Linked DNA regions of Homo sapiens: regions 1, 2 and 4 are each linked to region 3. The links are contacts of gene promoters, found by promoter capture Hi-C in blood cells and fetal thymus (Javierre and others, 2016). All regions are on one chromosome and are shown on one strand. Each heading gives the region's core, a stretch centred on a gene start or on the middle of the fragment in contact. The rest is flanking DNA. Distances are from core to core; before and after follow the strand shown.

Region 1 (5,206 bases), core at 1,540-4,039, 590 kb after region 3:
AGATTCACCCTTCACACCATCACCAGTCACTTGCCTGAAATGAAATTCTCAGGATCTCCTTTGCCTTCTCAAAGCCTGTCCCATGCTGGAATCCCTCTCATTCTTCAAGACTCAGCACAGGCATCCTGTCCTCCAGAAGGTGGTCCCTGAAGTTCCCAGGCTCAGCCAGGAGGGCCCTGTGCACTTAAAGGTCATTAAGTGTCCTGTGTGACCACACCAAACTGCAATTGCCTAGCGGTTATTATGTCTTCCTCCCCTGTAGCCAACCCCTCAGAGCTGCAACCATACCTGGACGTCTCTCTCCTCAGCACCTATCCCAGTCCCTGGAGCATACAGGCATTCAGTTCTTCTTGGGAGGGAGAGAGAAAGGATGGAGGACGAGATACTAATCTTGAAACATGTCTGTATATGGTGGGGTAGCAGCCAAGTTTCCCATATCCTACTTGAGGGGGGCTTGGCTTCCTGCTGAGTCAGGAGAACTCAGGGCTAACTCCTGGCTTTGTCACCACCTAGCTGTCTGACCTTGATCAGGCTGTCTAACCTCTATGGGCCTCGGGTTTCTCATCTAATAAAGGGGTTGGGCCAGATGAACTCCACAGTTCCTTCAGCTCTGATTCTAAGGGCACCATAGGTCTCCTGACCATAGGGGTCTTGGCTGCGTCTCTGCACCCAGGGAATCACCTCCCAGAGCCTCTAGCATTTTCCCTGCCCTGAACCTACCTCCCTGGTCCCCTGACTTCCTTCTCCCTGAGCTGGAGAAGCCCATGGCAGCCTCATTAAGTGGCACTGACTGTCACAGCCTTGCCCATGGAGACTACCAAACAGTTTTCAATGGAAATTAAACATACTTGGCTTCTCTTCTAAGTTTAACCAGCTATTTTCTGGAGCCATGATTACTTTCTCATTAAGAGCAGAAGTCCAGATGGCCAGGTCTTTGGATCTTCTTTATTGTCTTCTTTAAAAGCTCATTAAATTCCTCTTCCCACCCACTGCTAGAGAGGAGTCCACCAGGCCTCTGGGAAGCCCAGTCCCTCCTCCCATAAGCAGCCCCTCCTCCCTGCCAAAACTGGGCAGCAACCTCTATGAATAATGAAGCCCTGCTGACCTCAAACCAGGCCACCTTTCCTTGGACCTGTGCCACTTGTGGAGACAGGAGATGAAGGACACAGTCTCTCTCCTCACGTTTCTCATGGTTTCTTTAAAAATGCAAGAAATAGCTATTGACGAAGATTGAGATAAGTTGCAGAATACACATCCCACTCCTGAATCATTCTTTTATCTCCCAACAGAATAACCCCCACTGGATAGGGACCTCGTCTTGCTCACTCACCAGTGGATTCCCTCCTCTTGTACATACCAGGCATTCAATATATCTGTTGAACGAATAAATAAATGTCATCTTCCTTGTCATATCCCCAGCTCCTAGAACAGCCTTTGAATCAACAAATTCTTGCTAAAAAATGAATGAATAATGAATGAATGAATGAATGACTTGCACAATGCTTTGAAAGATGAAGAGGAGTTAACCAGAAATGAAACAAAAAAGGAAAGGGGCAAGCAATCCCAAGAGCACAGAGGATAGCATTTGCAAAGGCAGAAGGAAGTGTGGAGCTTCCAGGGAACAGTGGCTTGTTGGAAGTGGCCCAACATTCTATCTGAAAAATGAGTTTAATCGAAGATTTACAGGAAAGTGGCAGAGGACAACCTAGCTTTTCTCACTTCTTTCCCTTCTACCATCAGCTTATCTCCTTTAGATCATTAACAAAGTCACAGGGACTTCATATTTCCACAATATTAACCTCAATCTTTGTTTGCAAGCAACAGAAACTTCAAACTCCTCAAGCTAAAAAGTAAGCAGGTGTCGGAGATGGTTCTTGCTATTTATCTATGTTTCTATGTATACATGTGTGTATGTCTGTATTTATATCTATCTCTCTCTAATCTTGAGTTTACTTCCTTCTGAAGTAACCTCATTCTCTCCCACCTAAACAGCTTCCTCTTTGCAACCAGGGGAACAGGTTTGCATGGCCCCCACAGTGTTGGAAGCACTCATATAACATCCAAATAAAAATACTAGGAGAGGGCAGGATGTAGTGGCTCAGCCTGTAATCCCAACATCTTGGGAGGCTGAGGCAACCAGATCAGTTGAGGTCAGGAGTTCTAGACCAGCCTGGCCAATATGGTGGAATCCCATCTCTACTAAAAATACAAAAATTAGCCAGGTGTGGTGGTGTGCACCTGTAATCCCAGCTGCTTGGGAGTATGAGGCATGAGAATCGCTTGAACCTGGGAGGCAGAGGTTGCAGTGAGCCGAGATCACACCAGTGCACTCCAGCCTGGGTGACGGAGTGAGACTCTGTCAAAAAAAAAAAAAAAAAAAAAAAAAGCCCAGGAGAGGATTTTGATTGGTTCTGGTTGATCATATGCCCACTCCAGATCAATCTCTGCAAATATTGGCCAGCCTGGGTCATGTGCCTTCCCATGATGGACAGTACTGTGACTGACAGACTCAAGAGAAAGAGAGGAGTGTTCCCCCGAAGGAAGAGATGCAAGAGATGCTGGGGAAAAATAAAACCACAGATCCCACCACATCAGCCATGCACACATCCCAAGCAGCCAGGTGCCATGTTGGGACACATTGTAGTCATGTCCAGCTGTCCTTATTCAGCAGAGGAGGAGGTAAGCTTTGTATATGTACTTTTTGTCTTACACTAGCCTCTTCTCTGGGGCTCAGTTTCTTCATCTGTAAAGTGAGTATGCTGGGCTAAATTCATCTTTAAAAGTCCCTTCCAAATAGGACAGTCTGGTATTTCTCAGAAGTTTACATTTCAAGGCTTGCTAACTTATCTTGGATAATGGAAACGTCTGTTTCCTTGATTGATTAATTCATGAGGTAAGCTTGGATATTTTATCTTTCTTGTTCTTAGTCATTTCAAAAACACTGGATGTAAGTTCAGCAAAGGAATCCAATCTCTTTCCCAAAGTAAATTTTTTTGTCTCATTCAGAATTGGGTAATTTGGATCATCCTCTTTGGAAGAATGAGATATTTGAGATGAAGTACTTTAGATCCATCCCAATTTTTAGTTCTTCGGCCCCAAATTTTATTATTTTGAATTGATCCTGGGAGCTATGGAAAGGGAAATCATTCCTCCTTAAGGTTATCTGAAACCCACTTGACTTTAGTAGAGAATATTTCAGGTTAGTGTCTGTAAGCCTGAAACTACTGTTGTTATTTTATATTTACTGAGCACCATGATGTCCTTGTAAGGTGCAGAGAAATCAGAAACACAGATCCATTAGCCATTCACAGTGCTGTGGGACTGTGTGCCTTTTCCGAGCACATCCATCTGCTCCTGCACCCCTAAAAACCCTGGCCAGAAGCAGGACAGATCCAGAAAACAGGGCACAAAGAAGGACTATGATGTACTCATAGTTAACAGCTAGTTGGGCATGCTAGAATATGAAATCCAAGTGTCTGAATTCCAGTTTAGCTCCCCTTCGATATAATCATCCCATCTCCCCTTCTCCTCCAACCACATTCAAAGCCTCCTTCTCCCAGACCCAGAACCAAGCCCCAACCCTCCCTCACCCAGCTCCCAAGGCTTGTTGATAATGTCATGACCCTGGCCACTGGCCTCACTGAACCTTTCAATCTTGCCTCCCACAAGCATCTTGAGTTGGCACTGTGACTTCCAGGCACCTATGCTATTTGCAGAGAATGCCCTTTCCTTAATCCAAGCCCAATAATCTAAATGTTTGACTCCCTGAAGGACCGTCTAACACAACCAAGCCTTTGTTTGATGGTGGAGCCTGCCTCCCCTCATACCCGTCAGCTGTCTGAGGCCCACGCCCACAGCCCCACTCACCTGCACACAACGGAAGACCTGTGCCTGTCTTCTACAGCTGCGAGAGGGCCACAGAGGATGTGGGCACTGTCCACTGGCCCCGGGGGCTGAGGGAGTCTTCGGAGCCCGGCTGGCATTACTCGCGACTTCTGCAGCTGGTAGGATCCTGGGTTGCGGAGGCAGCACCTGCGTGGTATATCTTAGATCACTGGCTCAGGTAGCAAGTGATTCAACTTCTCCCCAAACCCCCTGCCACCCCTCCAGAGGAACCCTGTTCCTCAGAGATCATGGGTTTCTTTGATGGGCTTGAGTGGCTAAGGTCTGACATGGTGAACAAAACCTAACTTGAGAAGAACCTCAACTGTCTTCCTGATCATTTTCCCAAATAGTCTAGTACAAACCATATCCAGCAAGCCACTTCTTCTTGTATTCTTTCACTCATAAAAATATTTATTGGAGGCCAGGTGCGGTGGCTCATGCCTGTAATCCCAGCATTTTGGGACGCCAGTGCGGGTGGATCATGAGGTCAAGAGATCGAGACCATCCTGGCTAACACAGCAAAACTGCGTCTCTGCTAAAAATACAAAAAATTAGCTGGGTGTGGTGGTAGGCGCCTGTAGTCCCAGCTACTCGGGAGGCTGAGGCAGGAGAATGGCGTGAACCTGGGAGGCGGAGCTTGCAGTGAGCCAAGATCACGCCACTGCACTCTAGCCTGGGCAACAGAGCGAGACTCTGTCTCAAAAAAAAATATATATATATATATGTGTATATGTATATACACATATATATACACACACATATATATACACACACATATATATACACACACGTATATATACACATATATATATACACACACACATATATATACACACACACAAATATATATACACACACACACATATATATATATATAGGAGGTCGGGAGCAGTGGCTCATGCCTGTAATCCCAGCACTTTGGGAGGCTGAGGTGGGTGGATCATGAAGTCAGGAGATCAAGACCATCCTGGCCAACATTATGAAACCCTGTCTTTACTAAAAATACAAAAATTAGGCGAGCATGGTGGTGCACGCCTGTAGTCCCAGCTACTCAGGAGGCCGAGGCAGAAGAATCACTTGAACTCTGGAGGCAGAGGTTGCAGTGAGCCGAGATTGCGCCACTGCACTCCAGCCTGGGCGACAGAGCCAGACTCCATCTCAAAAAAACAAAAACAAAAACAAAACAAAACAAACAAACAAAAAATTTACTGGATTTCACTATATTTTTGGAACATTAAAGAAGCTGACATGCTTTTCTAGAACACTCACTTTCCCCATGCCTCAAAGCCCATGATAAACGCTCCCTCATTCAGGAAGCCCC
Region 2 (5,445 bases), core at 1,837-4,336, 610 kb after region 3:
ATTCTTCACCTGGTTGCCGGAAGCTTTATTGGGTCTGCATTGAAGCTGTCTTCCCAGGCCCTATTCTCTTTCTTTTCTTCCTTTCCAAGGTGTTGATCTCTAAAACACCATGAAGTCCTCTTGAAGAACGCTGTCCTTGCTTCTGCCTTTGGAAAACCCAAACTGCAAGGGCAAAGGGCACAGAAGCAGTGGTGTGCTGACAGAACAGAGAAGTGGCAGAAGAAGACTATAGCCTGCACCTGAGCTCCTGGAGGTGGGGGTGGGGAATCTCAGAAGTAATTGACAGGGTCAGATGAAGAAGACAGACCAGTGATCTGTGAACCCTTGTAGCGCACGGACCCTCTGACTCTGATCCTTGCCACCTGCCTTCTATGGCAAAAGAGACTGCTGTGTTTGTTCATCGATCAAACTCCTTCCCACAAGTTTCTCTTGGCCAAGAATGTCTCTTCAGCCCTGAGTTTCCCATTTACTAATAGGTCTTTGTCACTCCAAGTGACAAGGCTTCCCATCTCCTGCAGTCTTATCCTCTAATCCAGTTATTTCTGTTTTTGGAGCATAAACAATAACTCCCCAGGTTTACCCTTTTAGCTTCCCCAACGCTTATGCTTCCCTATTCTTTCCTCCAGTTAGAGCAAGAGCAATCAGACCAAGATTTCAGCTCATGTTTATCACACACCATCTCAACAAAATCTACTAATGCTTTACAAGCCCTCACAAGCATTTCCTGCAGGCTCCACCACTTTGAGAAAAAGCAAAGCTTTTGAATTATCCCTGCTAGTGGTGTGCTGGTAAAATCAGCTCTCTGAAAAGTACATACATACATAGAGAACAATATAGCATTTGCTGATTTCCAATTTTGGTGGTGTAAATGCTCATACCATAACAGATTTCAAGCTACCAGTGAAATTTCACAGGCTTTTACAACCAGCTTGTAAAGTTCCTGAGTATTTAACATTGGCTTTTGATATCCTGTAGGAGCTGGCTTCAGCAGCCACTGGCAGGGCTATCCTCCAATTCTCCAGGTCACCCCCAACCAGCACCCATCTTATTCTCTTAGCAATGTCCTTGACTAACATAATTTTGTCATGACAGCATTCACCATGGCCCACACTGTCTTAGAGACACATTGCCTATCTGATCTCATTTAATCCTCACAAAATCAACCATCTTTATCTCCATTTCACATATCATGGTTACTACTGGAGGCTTATCACCTTTCATCAGACCTGCACTACACATAAAACATAACACACTGCATTGTTGGGCAAAGCAGTGCAGCCCTCTTACAAGTATTTTTTTAACACAATAAAGTTCTTTCAAGTGTAAATTTATTTTTCCATGACAAAAATAATGAACCACTTTGCAAAGAAAATTGGAAGGCAACCATTAATTCTTAAATGTGTTAAGATTATTTGATGTCATGGTAAAATGTTTATGAAATATTACATTTTAAAAGTGTAGTATAGTAACCTACAATGTGATACCAATTCTGTAAAACAGTAAATGTATTAATGAAACACTCTAAGTAAAGGAAAAGTGAGTAGTTATCGCTCTTTTTTAGTATGTTTTAATTGATATATCATGGTTATATATATTTTTGGGGTACATGTGATATTTTGATACATGTATACAACATGTAATGATCAAGTCAGGGTAATTGGGATGTCTGTCACCTCAAACATTTATCTTTTTTTGTGTCATGAACATTATAATTCTTTCCTTGTAGTTGTTTTAAAATATACAATAAATTATTATTCATTATAATTTTTTAATTAAATATTTTTAAAATTTTTATTATTTTTATTTTTTTTAGAGACAGGATCTTGCTGGTCACCCAGACTGGAGTGCAATGGTGCAATCATAGTTCACTGCAGCCTCGAACTCTTGGGCTCAAGCAGTCCTCCTACCTCAGCCTCCAGAGTTGTTATCTATAATTTTGAACAGTAGTTATCTGTAACAGTGAGAAGCAAAGGTTTTCCTCATTTCCTCTTTTACAGTTTCTGTATTTTCCATAATTGATACATCATCACATATTACAATTATGATGAGAAAACATGATACATATTTTTATTTGGAAAATACATAAATAAAAACAAAATCTATGACCTCACCGTTCAGACTCAACATCTCTTCCATTTTGATGTCATGCGATGTTTCTGACGGAGGTTTAATTGAAATGAAACAGCATCAATAAGCATGGGCTCCACAGTCTTCCCACATCGCTCTGAGTGCCCGGGGAGGGACTGGGGACTCCCCCCACACATTAACCCACGAGGACCTCTCACATGGACCTTTTTACATTCTCTCTAATCTTTCCCAAAGCCTTGCAAGGTGGGAGTAATATTATTATTCCCATTTCAGAGATGACAAAACTAAGAAACTCGTCCTCTGTGAGTTTCTGTGCTATTAGGCTGTGTCTCATGTCCCCGTACAAAGTATCTTTGTATGGGAGGCCTAATGGTTAAGAGCATGGACTTCTGTCCGACAGAATTCATTAAGTTCCAGGCCAGACACACTGCCGCTCTCTGGGAATGTGTCCATGGGCTAGGGGTGGCACTGAGCTTCCATTCCATTTCTTATAAAATAATGACGACAAGATCGTTTTCCTTAAAGGGTGGCTGTGAGCCTTCAATTACACAGTGATGAAAAGACCTTAGCACAGTGCTGGGCAACGGCTAGCTACTTCAGAGGCACAGCTGAGACTTGCACAGAGGTACCTGGCTGCAAAGTCCGGCTCCTCTACACTCTGCAGAGCTGTTTTCCCCCTTCAGAGCTCCTCTCCTCCGGGAGGGCTTGCCTCGCCCCGGTCCAGGATCTCTGCCTTCGGTTGAAGCGCAGCGCCCCCAGCCGTCCGCAGGAGGGATCGACGCCTCTGTCTCCCCGAAGTGAGGGCGCTCGCTGCGGAGCTGGGGGTGGTCTCCTCTTCCCCCCATCGCGGCCCAGCAACCTGGGGGTCCGCGTGACTTCTCCCTGGCCGGGGGATGGAGGATGCGCTCTCCTCTGTCCCTTCAAGGCCTCTTCCTCGTCCCAGGTCGAGTCTCCTCCTTGCTGACCAGGCATCGCGAGCAGATGAATCCTCTGGGCGGTTGTCCCTGTCAGGCTGTCAGGACCTGATTTTCCCTGGTAAGCCTTCGTCAGGCAGGTGGCCTCGCCCAGGCCTCGGAAAATGTCAGGGCGCAAGCTGGGCACACGGCCCTCCCGCTGGCGAGCAGGCAGCGCGCGCGTTCTTTAGGATTTGGAACAGCCCTGCCAATTAGCTTGTACTCTGCCCACATGCGCAGGACTAAAAAGGAAGCAGGCCAGGCCCGAGCAAAATTAGACAATGGGCTCCCAGAACACCAAGGGCGAAGGCGGCCCGAGCACCTGCTGTTCTCGCCCCTCAGGGCTGAAATTGGGCATGGAGTTGGCGAGGGAGGCCTGGCAGGGAGGGAGGGGGTCTAGCTGTGCGTTTGCTACAGGGCCTTCTTCCTCCACGTTCCAGATGGGACTCAACGCGGGCTGCCCAGAGGAGGGGATGGGGAAGGGCCAAGCCCTGCGACTGGATTCTTTCCGGGCCACAGAGGGCGGGTGCTTACAGCTGGGGTCAGGCACACTTCCGTTCTGCCTGGAGGACAGGACAGGGTGGTGGCTTCTCCAGATCCAGTGCTGGCCGCTCAGAGCCCATGTGTGGAAGACAGTCTGGTGCAGGGGTTGAGGATGAAGACTTTTGGAGAGAGGCGCATGCGGGTTCTTGTCCCACGTTCCTTATTGACCCACTCTGCAACCTCGGTTACTTGAGAAAAGTTAAGATTCCTTTCTCCAAAAAGCAGAGACAATACAAATTTCTAACTTGTAAGGTACCCTGTGAGAATAAGAGGAAATGAAATGTGGAATCCATATAGTATCTGCTTATAGAGTTACTGAGTTCTATTTTGGGATGAAGAAAAATGTAAACCTTACAACGGGAATATTTTTATCTTTGAGGTTCACTAAAGCACCAGAAGGTATGAAGGCGGAGAGAGGAAACAGGGCAATGGAATGAACACTTCTCAAGAATCTCTCAGGTGCCACGGACTGAGCCAGGTGCCTTCCATGTGTTATCTCATTTTACAGGGCAGGTAACATTTCTGAAAGGTCAGGCAGCTAAAAAGCAGACAGCTTTCTGGCACATTAGAGAAACAAAAGAAATGTTGGAGACTGGAATGCCTGCTGTGTCAAGGCACCTAATTAGAAAACAACGTCAGAGTGAATTTGTCGTGCGAGTCTCCAGCTCTGCCAGAAGAACTAAAAGAAATGTGTCACCAGAGGAATCACAAAGTAAAGTCTATTATTGTTCTGGGGATTCTGGGGATTCGATGCACAAATCAGAGGTCTGACAGGGGATGGGGCATGTGTTACGTCTTAGTAATGTGCTAAATGGTAGTGCTTCCAGATTCCCCACAGAATCCTACTGCAGTCAGAGATCTTGATGTCGGTTGAACTTATCTATTTATAACGAGGAAACATTAAGGTAACTCAAACCAACAAAATAAAACAGGTTGACAGTGACTAAGCAACAACAGAGTGCTAGATTTATGTAGAGATTCTTTCTTTCAAGTTGCTGAGACATTTCACAAAGGAGAACCGTAGATTATCATCAACTTCCATTTGGGGACTTAGAAATCCACCAAAGACAAAGACAATGTTGGTATCATTCCTTCCAGCTCTTGGCTGAAACTGTTCTTTCCTATGTCACCAGTGAACTTCTACTGGCCAACGCCCAAAGAATACTTTCTCAGTTTTAGTTTAGAGACCTCTCTATTCCACTTGCATGGTTAGACACTAACTGCTGGAAACTTCCAATCTGAAACACTCCCTGGGAAATGTCTTATTTGCAAATTTTACAGCTAAAATCCCTCCTCCATAGACAATCTATTAATAAACAGTACCTGCAAATGGGGGACTCTCTGGGGGAAATTTTTTCACTGCAATTGGTGTCAGCATTATATTATAATTAATCCATCTTTATCTAAGATAAAGTTGTAGGTTCAGATAAATAATGTCCCTCTCCCTTTAACACTTGTTATACTTGTGCTAGGCCTATTTGTGGCCACACCTGGGATTGAGTGGTTGAGATGAGATGCAAAAGAGATTATCTAAACTTCTGGGTGATTTTTTGCTGAATGAATGTCTTTTAAAGCACCATTTCTGATCCCATTTGGCTTCTCTCTAGCCTCTATCGATTAATTGTTGATTTAAATTGGAAGAGAGGCTATATGGAGTCTAGAACTTTACTTAGTTCATTGTTATTTCCCCAGGACCTCGAAAAGTGCCTGGGATATAACTCACAAATATGTGTCGAATGAATGAGTAGTTCTATCTGTTTCATGTCTGGGTCAATGTAGGCTGTATCCACATGTTCCTGGTAGGGGAAGTAATAGTAACAAAGATTTTGGCTAAGCTTCAGAGGCCATGAATTAATAGATT
Region 3 (5,405 bases), core at 88-2,587:
ATTTCCTTTGTATTAGTAGGTAATTTTCCCGGCTAGATTTTAACTGAAAACTCTCTCCCTTTTGGAGACAGCTCTGGTCTCAGTTCAGATCTTTTGTTTTTAACTGAGCTGCTGTGATTCTGTTTTGGGTGGTTCAGGATCTCTCAGAGATGTGGGTTGACAGTTTGGGGATCCACTCTCTGACTCCTTCCTTGGGATTTCTTAATCTCTTCAGAATTCAAAATTTTCTGTCTTCACTTTTCTGCTTCCCCAGACAAGAATAACTGATAAGTTTTATACATGCATCCCTGGTACTGCTGAGCCTGACTTCTGGACTGCACTTTGCCCCAAGCTAAATGCCAAAGAGAGGAGAATTTTCTTGTGGAGTTCTTGATCTTCAAGCAAGCTTGCCCTTCCTACCAGTCTGCTGTTCACATTCCAGTATATTCAGCTTTTTGTATTGTGTCCAAGTGTAGTTCCTGATCTTCAAGCAAGCTTGCCCTTCCTACCAGTCCACTATTCACATTCCAGTATATTCAGCTTTTTGCATTGTGTCCAAATTGTTTTCTGCTGGGGGATGGTCCACTAGGGTCTTAGTCTATCATGGTTGAAAACAGAAGTTATGTCCTGCCTGGGACTTTGGATTTTGAGTCACCCTTGTCCTGGTCAATGCGATAGCCTCCTAACCAGTCTCTGTTTGTGTCCTTGCTCCCTCCAGTCTATCCTCAACATATCAGTCAGAGTGATCCTATGAAAACGTCCAGGAGCCTCCAATAGCTTCCCATTTCACTCACAGTAAATTAAAAAATACTTAAAATGTGCTACTCTGCCTGTTTGAAACTCCTCATCCTTGGCTTCCAGATCACATGCTTATGCTAGTTTGTATCCTACCTTTCTGAACACTCGTTCAGCAACTCGTGTTTCCTCTAATCCTGAAACGTGGGTCCACCCTGAAAGTATGGTTCTACTTTAAAGTTCTATGTCAGGGCACTGAGTAAGGCCTTTCCCGTCCCCAGCAATCAGAAACCAGGACCCCACTGCTGAAGGCAAAGAGGACGTATGTATCCCCCAACTTTCTCAGAGAGTTATCGGCAGCACTGACTTAAAGAGGATTAAGAGCTTCAGGGCGCAGGCTACTCTTTAATATTTTTCACGTTAGAATTTGCTCAGATTTGAATAAACGCAGAGCGAAACTAGAGAGCGTTCGCGCAGGTTCTAGCTACCTTGGTCAGAAGGAGGGGCTGATGCAACTTTCCTCCCAGTTTCTGAGCCCTCTCGCACTGCAGCTGCGAGCCTCGGGGAAGCGGAACCCACAGGCGCGCGCGCCGCTGCTTCTGGCCGGGCGCGGGTCGTGGTGCACCACGGGAGCGCCGCACCGGCCGGCATGGAGGAGCGCGGCGATTCCGAGCCGACCCCCGGCTGCAGCGGCCTGGGTCCGGGCGGTGTTCGCGGCTTTGGCGACGGCGGTGGAGCTCCTTCGTGGGCCCCTGAGGACGCCTGGATGGGCACTCACCCTAAGGTCAGGAGGCGCGAGAGGAGCAGGGCGCCGTCCAGGCCCCTAACCCAGGCAGAACACTCCCAGGCAGCTCTCTTTCTTTCTTCCTCAGTGGGAGACTGAGGACGCGCGCCACCCTCACCGAGGGGGACCGGTGTGCACAACTGCCAGCCTCAGGCAGCATCGGTTTTGTTTGTTTAAACAAGTTGCACTATCTCAATCCCCCAGCCAAAGCCATTTTGGAACTGAGAGCCAGACAGTAACTCCGCCCCTCTCAAGCCGGAGATCCCTAATAAGCGCTCCACTAGTTTTGCTGTCTAGGTAAATCCCCTTTGGGGGATAAATTTATTTAATCCTCACGGTAACCATGCAAGACAATTTGTGGGCGATGGATAAGATCTAGGGGTCCATAGTGATAAAGATTTAAGCACAGTCACGTTTACACTTAGCCTTGGGCCCAGAATGCATCTTTATTTTGAAAAGGTGCAGATTCCTAATATTTCAGATTTCTTCGAAAGTTTGAATAGGTTCTTGCTCAAAGCAGAGCTACTCACATTTTGCGTGTATTTTTCTAGATTAGCAGCAGGCGAGATCAAGATAGTCCTCTGCTTACTTCTGCTTGAGACATTACTGCCTTGTACAAGTACGGTTCCAAGCAGTGAATAGACAGTGAATGGAGATGTGGGTTTTGTAAGAATCTCAAAAACTAGTCTCTACGGTACTTTAACAGAATTGCACTCTTCTGCTAGAGAGCAATAATTCATAATCATCTAAAAACAGCCAAGAAAAAATTTGAAGGTATAAGTTTGAAGAGTTAACCTTTTTCAGCTTCTCTTGCTTAATTTTATCTTCCTACTCTGTCCCCTTCATCCTCCCAAAAGGTGAGAAAAAGAAACAATAGCATGGAAATATTATTTAGTGCCCTTTTAGGGAAACAATAGCATGGAGAGGCAGCATATTGGTTAGGCGCATGAACTCAAAATCAGACTCAGTTTAAATCCTGATTCTGTCACTTATCAACCTTGTGATTTGGGACAAGTTGCTTGATCTTATTATGCCTTAGTTTCCTCACCTGAAAAATGGGGATATTAATAGTCCATACTTACTTATACGGTTGTTACAGGATTAAATTAATGAATATTTGTAAGCCATTCAACATACAGAAAGCACTATATAAGTACTTAATAAGCGAAACACCAGTAACAACTTTTTAAGACTTTATCTAGATTTGGTGGTGTTATTCAGTTTATATACTTGTAGATTGTTTTCTTTTTCAAGTTAATGGCTGTATACACCTTGACCATCAAATCTCCCCTTTTGATTTCTCTTCTTGAAGGATCAAATTAATTTTTAAAAGAAAAAGAACAAGTAATAAAATAATAGGGGGTATTTGTTTTTCCAATTTCACCTTTCTGTTAATTTAAAAATTATGTAGTTTCATCCAGTAAAATGGTACCAGATTTATTATCCCCAAACACACTTTTATTTTATTATTCTCCTGCTTAGAAATCCTCAGTGTTTCCATACTGATAAAATCACATGTTTAGCTTGACCACCAAAGCCTTGTAACCTGGCTCAAAATTATGTTTTGGGTGTTATTTTCAAAACATGTTTGAAGTCGACAACTAATTAACCCCTGTCCTCCTGAACCTGTACAGTTACAGTGAAGCTGATGGGAGAATGTGACTTTAGACCTGTCCCCATGCAGGTCTGCTAATAATTCAACTCAGCATTAGCCCTGCATATCCACCTAGTCGCTGGCATAGCTGGGCAGCCTCAGAATTCTCCTGCAGGTGTAGGCCCCTGAAAAGTATTCCCCTTATGCTGACCAGTAGTCTGAAAGAAGCAGCTTTCTCTAGTTCCTTGTCAATTCCTTTTAAAAAATCTACTCTTAAAGTGAGAAAGAGTGGGTAGAGAGGCTAGGACTGATACTCTAGCAGATTCTCTCCATATACAAATAAGAGGCTAGGGAAATACACAGTACCCACTAACATGTCCCATCACAAGTTTTATTAAAAAGGTTTCTCTATTGCTGGCAGATAGGTTTCTTTACAGGCCCTTGAATGTATGTGGCTTAATCCCACCTTTGTGTAATTACCTGCAGTATTACTCTACTTCTCCACTTACTTAAATCATAATGTTCTTCAGTGCTCAACTTGTATCCCATCCCACCTCTGCTATAAATCTTTCACCAGTCCCTCTGAGTAGAGCTCTTCTGACCTGCTGTGTCATGTTTTTTATTCCATTTACATGGTTTTTAATCACTTACAGTCATATATTGTTATTTGCCTAACAATTTTAAGTGTGCATGTATTTAACAATTGCAAGTTCTTTAGAGACAGAGATAAGATCTTATATTGCCTTTTAACTTCCACTATACCTAGAAGAATTTTATAGATTATATATGCTTGATGACCACTTGATGATTGGAAGAAAATATTAAATAATTTTTTCTTCTCAATTTGACAATTATATTTTAATTTTCAGTATCTAGAAATGATGGAATTAGATATAGGAGATGCCACCCAAGTTTATGTAGCGTTCTTGGTTTACCTGGACCTCATGGAAAGTAAGTTGTTTGTTTATATTGTTTTGTTATTGGGACTGTGGTAGAGATTTGGGGGGTTGGATTGGGATATAGCATTCTTAACATAATAAGCAATCTTTTATGCATTTGCTGTTAATTTTGCAATTTATTTATTTACATTGGGAATTACTGAGTAACAGAAGCTACTAGAAAAGCAAAGACAGGAGGTAGTGTTACGAGTGATATTTGCTCAGCTGAGTATTAGGTAGAAGTTTGGAGTTTTTATTTTTTGTATTTAATAAACATTATTGTCCATTCAATGATGCTCTTTCAGGCAAAAGCTGGCATGAAGTAAACTGTGTAGGATTACCAGAACTCCAGCTCATCTGCCTTGTTGGTACTGAGATAGAAGGGGAGGGGTTACAGACTGTGGTGCCTACCCCCATCACTGCTTCCCTCAGCCATAACAGGTGAGCAGGTGATTTTGGTCTAAGTTCCTTTCCCGAGTAAAGCAGTAGGAAACATTAAACATAGTGATGTAATACTTTTAATGAAATTTGGGATACAGGGTTCATAGCTTTACTCTTGGCTATTTGAGGAATAAGTTAAATATGAGTGTTGTATTCGGCCATTCTTGCATTGCTATAAAGAAATACCTGAGACTGAGTAATTTCTTAAAAAAAAAAGAAGAGGTTTAAGTGGCTCATAGTTCTGAAGGCTTTACAGTAAGCATGGTGCTGGCATCTACTCGGCTTCTAGGGAGGCCTCAGGAAGCTTATAATCATGGAGGAAGTTCGTGAAGCAAGAGCAGGCACATCATATGGCAAAAGCAGGAGTGAGAGAGAGTGTTGAGGGGGAGGTTCCACACACTTTTAAATGACCAGATCTCACGAGAACTCATTGTCCTGAAGACAGCACTCAGCCATGAAGGATTTACCCCTATAACCCAAACATCTCCCACCAGGCCCCACCTCCAACATTGGGGATTACAGTTCAACATGGGATTTGGGCAGGAACAAATATACAAAGTATATCAAGCATTCAACAAGTATTTATTTAGCACTTACTCTATGGTCAGTACTTTTTCAGAGACAGTATGTATGGTAGAAATATTTATATTCTTGGTAAGGAAGCAAGACCATTACATATGAAATAACAGCTGTTATAAGATGTACCATGTAATACAAATTATACTTTATATAGCAGTTGGTGAAAAGCATGATTAACATGCAAGCTGAAATCAAATTTTCATGTAGCTTTTTTTAAAAGCTTTAAAAAAGAGACTTTTTTTAGGACCTTTTTTTAAAAAGCTTAGGTACACAGCATTGGATTAAACATGTCTTTGTTTCATGACATACTCTCATTATTAGTTCATGCTTGGTTTTTATTTATTTACTTAGTTAT
Region 4 (6,036 bases), core at 1,999-4,498, 640 kb after region 3:
AATGTGACAGATTCCTTAGGTGCAACTTTAGAAACCTAAGTTTCAAAGGAGAAAAACAGTAGTTACTCCAGGAATTTTAACTCACTAACCACAGTTCTATCATGGCTCTGTAAGACAGAAAAATGGAACAAAATGTATATAGCTGTTGGCGATACGAGCCTTGTGGCTCAAATTGCATACCAAACATGGGATGGAGTAAGGCTGATGGCTAGAGGTAATCACCTCTAAGAGAAATGAACTGGAAATGATTTATAATCTACCCTACAAGGATATAATGCTAGGTTCCATTTCAGAGTAGTCACAGCTTTCCCTATGGAAGGCCCAATGGGAGGTTCATATTGCAACATTACAGTTTCTCCCTTACTCCATTTTTCAGAAGTATTAAGTAAGCAATCTCCACAATGTATTATATGACCTTTTTACCTGGTCCCACTGATTAGTCTTTATGCAGAGAACTCACTGAGAAAGTACACTGGCTTCACCTTTGGTTTAAATAAAAAAGACATTGTTAAGAAGGAAAAAAAATCAAGTCATCTTGATCATTTGTCACTAAATGAAACAAGAGAAAGCAATGAGCAAAGACTGTTTTCACCATAAATGCATTTGCTTCATAACCACTTAGGTCACTTAGAGTGTTTTGTGAAGGCAGCATAATCAGAATGCCACAATACTCGGATGCATCTTCCCAAAAGAGCCTCTAACCCCCAAAACCAAGAAAGGCGAGCTTCCTTTAATTAGAAGGCTATCCAAACTCCTATTCCCCACTCCACTACTAAATGAATTTTGTTTCTTGTCTATCCAGAGACAACAGAAATCTGGTTCGCAGGAATGCTCAGTAATCTTTCCCTGGCCTGAGGTGTTGCAGGGTGGTGCAGTGCTGCATTTGAAGGGGGAACTGTGGATTTCCATTTTTGATGGGACAGTTTTAAACAAGGTCAATTCTAACACAGCATGCTCCAGATTCCTACGATAACTACGCCAGTCAGAACGTGGTTGTTCATCACCATACTTAAAGCCTCCCATTAGAAAGCCTGCTTAGTATTAGGATGTCTATTAACCACACACAGTTTACCTTTTCTTTTTAAATACCTACCAACAGATTGTTTAGCAAGTCATAGCTCATCCTTCTCCATCATTTCAAATGCTTCTATATCTTCATTCCAGTCTGCTAATATGGAGTCTATAGGCTGGACCTTTTTACCCCAGCTAACATTAGGATTGGAATCTTCCTCAGTTTCTGATTGTTCTTGAAGCTGGTTATCTAAATCTGTACATTCACCATTAAGATTTGTAGTCTCATGGTTTTCTGTGGGATTAGAAGTCTGTTCAGAAGGGGAAATGCTTGCAGCATTGTCCATATCTGCTAGAGATAATGATTCTGGGTGAGAATTTAGAGAATTTTCCTCAGAAGACTCTTGATCAACCAAATCAACCTCCTGAGAACTTGATGAAATCTGTTCACCACTCTGATTCTGAGAATCATTTTCAGAGGATGGTTGTTCTTCATTTTCCATTTCAGGATCTGTATGAGAAAGAAACAAACCTCATGCTACTTCTCTAAAAAAATGTACTATTACACTTTCCAAAGCATATTGGTTTTTGCAACAAGATGAAATAAAACGTGAAAGAGACTCATGTTAATGCAGAAAGGTGAGCATCAGCACTGAAATGAAGACTGTCTTTATGCAGTCACATTTTCCTATAGATTCACTGTGCAAAATGTGTCAGTGTTAGAAAATAAACGTTCTTCCAAATTGGAAGGAATGACAATAACTAAGACTGACATCAGTGGACATTAGTAAGCCAAGAAGTACGCTAACCAATAATAATATTAAAATATATAGAGATTTGCAATGTATGGCTAAAATGTATTAGATACCTAAAGCTTATGCATAAGAACATATTAAACAGAATCAATTTTAAACAGCATATATCATTGCTATATTTTCAAATAATATTCCTTTGAAAAGTGAAATTCCTACTCAGTAAGTCATAAAGAAGCAGATAACATAGATTTTTTTGAATGACTAAGGGTATTAATGTGACTGATCAGAAATACTTTCACAAGACAAGAACTGAGATTATTCATAAAATTCTATTATTTTAGGCCTATGAATTATAAGATATAGTCATTTTAAAATCCACTGGAAGGCTGAAGAGTGAGTTAAACCTCTTATAATGAATATACAGTGAAACCAGTAGAGGCATTTTATTTAGGGTTCCTACAAGAAAGTGCTTAAATAGCATCGACGCCTACATGCTACATCCTGTTCAGTCTCTGCCTCTGTGATGCAGTTGGCCAGCAAATATCCTCCAAGTCATCATTTGCATAGTGCTAGGGATAAAATGAGGAGCAATACCAAATGCTATACCTGCCCTTATGGGTCTTATAGTCCAACGGGAGAAAAAGATATTATACAAATAATCACGGAAAATAAATAGAAAACTCAACTGTGACACGTTATGAAAGAGAGATAAGGATTTTGGATGCTCAAGTCCCTTATGTAAAATGACACAGTATTTGCATATAACTGACACACATCCTCCCATGTACTTTAAATCATCTCTTGATTACTTTATAATACCTAATACAACGTAAATGTTATGCAAATCATTGGTATACTGTATTGTTTGGAGAATAATGACAAGAAAAAAAATCTCTGTATGTTCAATACAGATGCTTTTTTCTTCTTGAATATTTCCTATCCACAGTTGGTTGAATCCATGGGTGCAGAACCCACAGATACAGAGGGAGAACTGTAAGGAGATTTGAGAAGTTTCTTCAAAAAGTTCCTTCAGAAAGTGACACTTGAGCTGGGGTTTAAAGTATAAGATAATGTCAAAGAAGGGAGGGAAGAGGATTTATTTAAAAACCAGAAAAAACAAAGGAAATGTAGACATGCAGGAAGGTGTGGTGGGTATTGCTGGGGCACAGAAAACAATTCCCCAAAATATGGTGCTTCAGCATGATGAATGCTTGGAAAACTGAAAGGTCTCAGAAATAAGCCTCAGAACCAGTCTGTCTCTGACCTTCCCCTGCCTCCCTGTCTCTCTGATCCTCTTTCCTGAAGCAACTGGGGGGATTCTCTCTGGAATTTTCTTATCTAAGGAAGCTTCTTTCCAAATGAAATGCAATTGTCTCAAGAATCCCTCCCTAGGACTCTCATCAAATAACGAGAAAAAAAATGAGCCATCAGAGAAGAGTAGAGACAGGGGTCCTCACCACACCCAAACAGACTTTTCTTCTGTTCTTCTGAGGACAGCTGAGAGATTAACTGGGGGACTTTATCTAGATACTATGCAAAGAGAATCCTTTACCAATCATTGTCTAAGCACTGGACCTCTTCATTCCCTAGTATTCCTCTACCCTAAGAAGAGGGTATTTAAGCTTCAACCACCTGTCCCCTTTCATATTTTGTATGGCTCCTGTGCACACACGTACACATAATAAAATTATTATGCTTTTCTGTTGTTAACCTGTTTTTGTTTTTTTTTAACCCGGGGTGTCCGCTGTAACCCTTTATGATGGGGAGGAAAGGATCACCCCTTTCTGCCCCTACAATGCATATATGTTCACCCTGATTAGATGGGATTACTTGACTCTGAAAGTTTACATTCTTAGGGTTTTTTTTCCGGAGGGGAGGATCAGCAGGGGGTGGATTGAGGAATTCCACACAATCTCTGTCTTCTAAGCTGTGAAAAAGGTACAATTTAATTAGGCAATTAGGGAAACCAATGGTGCAGACCAAAGAAAGAAGGTAGCTGGCTACTTACAGCTTATTTATCCTAGGTTCCCTAAATTCAAGAGAGAACAAAAAGAAAAATCTCCAAGTTTCTTTCTAGATTGTATTATTCCAGATTAGAAGGAGAGGAAAAGGTGTAGGGTTGTTTTACCTGGTAATGAAGATTGTGCTTGTGATAAAAAACTCTCCTAGGGTTACATATACGATATTATTTTGGAAATCTAGCTGATGTAATCGGACAAGAAAGTAGAATAATCAATGTAAATATAGAAAAAGATCAAATTATTTGTATTTTCAGATTGTGATCGTACACTGTCAAAGCAACTTTAATAAAAAAATACTATTAGAATTGATAAAAAAAATTTGGTAAGAAGACTATGCAAATACCAATAACTCCTTTGTAGTAACAATAAATAGTTAAAATATAATCATTAAACCTTTTCATAATAAAAAGCTACAAAACATAGAATTAAATTTATTATAAAAGGTATAAGACCCACGTTGCTTAAATAAAATCATAATGAGAACATAAAACAAGATTTGATTAAATTTATAGGTATATTCTTAAATGAAGTCTTAATATTTAACATTTTCCTAATTTATATGTAAAGTATGCAATTATATAATTTCAAAATGAATCTCATTTGTACTTCTTGTTTTCGTTTTAGAACCAGATACAATTAATTTAAAGTTTCTATGGAACAGCATATGTCAAAGAGAAGCCAAGAAATTCTAAGAATCAGTGAGGGGAGAGTTGCCCTATCAGATAATAAAATATACTCAAAACAGCAAACTTTTATTATTGGCAAAGGAATAAACACATTAGTAGAAGAGAAGGGTAAGTCTAGAAGCAGATCCAACTATGCAAGAATATTTGATATATAGCAAAGATGGTAGTTTAACTGAAGGAGAAATGAGTGGTTTGCTTCATAAATGGTATTTAGTAACTGACAACTCAATTGGAAAGACTCCTAACTTTTATTTTAAAATTCCATATGATTTAGAGACCAAAATGTAAAAAATGGTAAAAATGCCAGAAGAATTTAGGAAAATATTATGTAAAAACAGGATGGAGTGATCTTCTGAAGTGAGACAGAAGACCCAGGAGCCTCAAAGGAATTAATATTTCTGATTACCTAAAAATGTTATGAAAGTTACATAAACAAAGTGAAAAGATGACATGTTGGGAAAATTGTGTGTGTGTGTGTGTAACCTCTGTCCCTATATGTGTGTCTTTTCTAGATAATTTATAGAACCTCTATTTCTTTATGAGTATGTATGTAAATATAGGAAATGCGCACACACACAAACAGAGAGGTCCTATAAAATATCTAGAAAAGACACAGAATCTTATTTAAAGAAGGCAAAATGCAAAACATATGACTAGGCAATCCATAAAGAGAAAAAACAAAAAATATACCTATAAAGGGAAATATGCTGACTAAAATAGGAAGAAACATGTACTCTCATATCTTGCTGGAAAGGATGTGAATTGCTACAACCTTTTTTGGAATGCAACTTGCAACATCCATTAAAATGAAAACGACCCATATACTTTCTGCCAGCATTTCATTTTAGTAAATCTCAATATTCTAGAAAAAGTATGCATATCTAAGAAGATATGTACGAGAATGTTACCTACACCATTGTATACAGTGGCAAAACAAAAACCTGGAAATAATTTGGACGCCTAATAGTGACATGGTTAAATAAATTATGGTACAGTGATAATGCAAAACATAATGCAGCTTTCAAAAGAATAAGTTATGCTATCCTACTAACTTGGAGGAATGTCTTTAATATAGCTTTAACTGTAAAAGGCAAGTTACTGAATGATACATATATTTAGAAATGTATAAAGCACTAAGAAGAATATAAAAGATTACACATCAAACTGCTAACATTGGTTGGTTATCTCAGAAAGATGAGAGATTATTTAAAAGTTTTTAATACACTTCTGGATTGTTTAATTTGTTACAAGTTTAATTTTATAAAGTTTTTAAAAAGATACCAATAACTATTCTATGCAGCACTATAGGAAAGTCACCAGGGGCCAACTAAATTTAAATGTAGAGAAGCAGAGAGAGAGACAGAGACAGAGAGAGAGAGACAGAGAGAAGAACTTTGAAGAAGATGCCCATGGAAGAAAATATTTTGGTTTTCGCAAGCTGAAGGAGCTATAGAACCAGAAATAAAAGCAACAATCAGGAAAGTAAAAATGGCAGTTAGAGAACTACAAAAAGATAGAAGAGTTAAAGTCTGCCACATTGCTACAAATCTTGATCCTAAGGTG

The links. The method cuts DNA at HindIII sites, captures the fragments that hold promoters and counts their contacts. A CHiCAGO score of 5 or more calls a contact.
Region 1: a fragment that was not itself captured here is called in contact with the fragment with the promoter of TSEN15 in region 3 in 2 of 17 cell types (M1 macrophages and megakaryocytes); the score reaches 5.3 in M1 macrophages.
Region 2: a fragment that was not itself captured here is called in contact with the fragment with the promoter of TSEN15 in region 3 in 3 of 17 cell types (erythroblasts, M2 macrophages and megakaryocytes); the score reaches 6.4 in erythroblasts.
Region 4: a contact is called between a fragment that was not itself captured here and the fragment with the promoter of TSEN15 in region 3, in 1 of 17 cell types (erythroblasts). The highest score is 7.4, in erythroblasts.

Annotation. Positions count from the first base shown.
Region 1 is chr1:184,640,993-184,646,198 of GRCh38, forward strand. No RefSeq gene overlaps it. Among named protein-coding and RNA genes, the nearest start is that of EDEM3, 110 kb to the right of the region's middle. The HindIII fragment of the contact is 214 bases long and covers 2,683-2,896 here.
Region 2 is chr1:184,661,306-184,666,750 of GRCh38, forward strand. LOC105371648 (a long non-coding RNA gene) reads left to right here and starts at 3,037. Exons shown (of 3, transcript XR_007066768.1): 1 at 3,037-3,123; 2 at 3,964-4,296. The HindIII fragment of the contact is 4,662 bases long and covers 756-5,417 here.
Region 3 is chr1:184,050,393-184,055,797 of GRCh38, forward strand. TSEN15 (tRNA splicing endonuclease subunit 15) reads left to right here and starts at 1,338. Exons shown (of 5, transcript NM_052965.4): 1 at 1,338-1,498; 2 at 3,962-4,043; 3 at 4,336-4,471. The coding sequence starts at 1,364. RefSeq lists enhancers at 257-1,192, 945-1,054, 1,115-1,244, 1,123-1,417. The HindIII fragment of the contact is 4,301 bases long and covers 473-4,773 here.
Region 4 is chr1:184,692,951-184,698,986 of GRCh38, forward strand. It overlaps EDEM3 (ER degradation enhancing alpha-mannosidase like protein 3), which reads right to left. Exons shown (of 20, transcript NM_025191.4): 20 at 1-1,522. The coding sequence ends at 1,113. Among named protein-coding and RNA genes, the nearest start is that of EDEM3, 59 kb to the right of the region's middle. The HindIII fragment of the contact is 275 bases long and covers 3,112-3,386 here.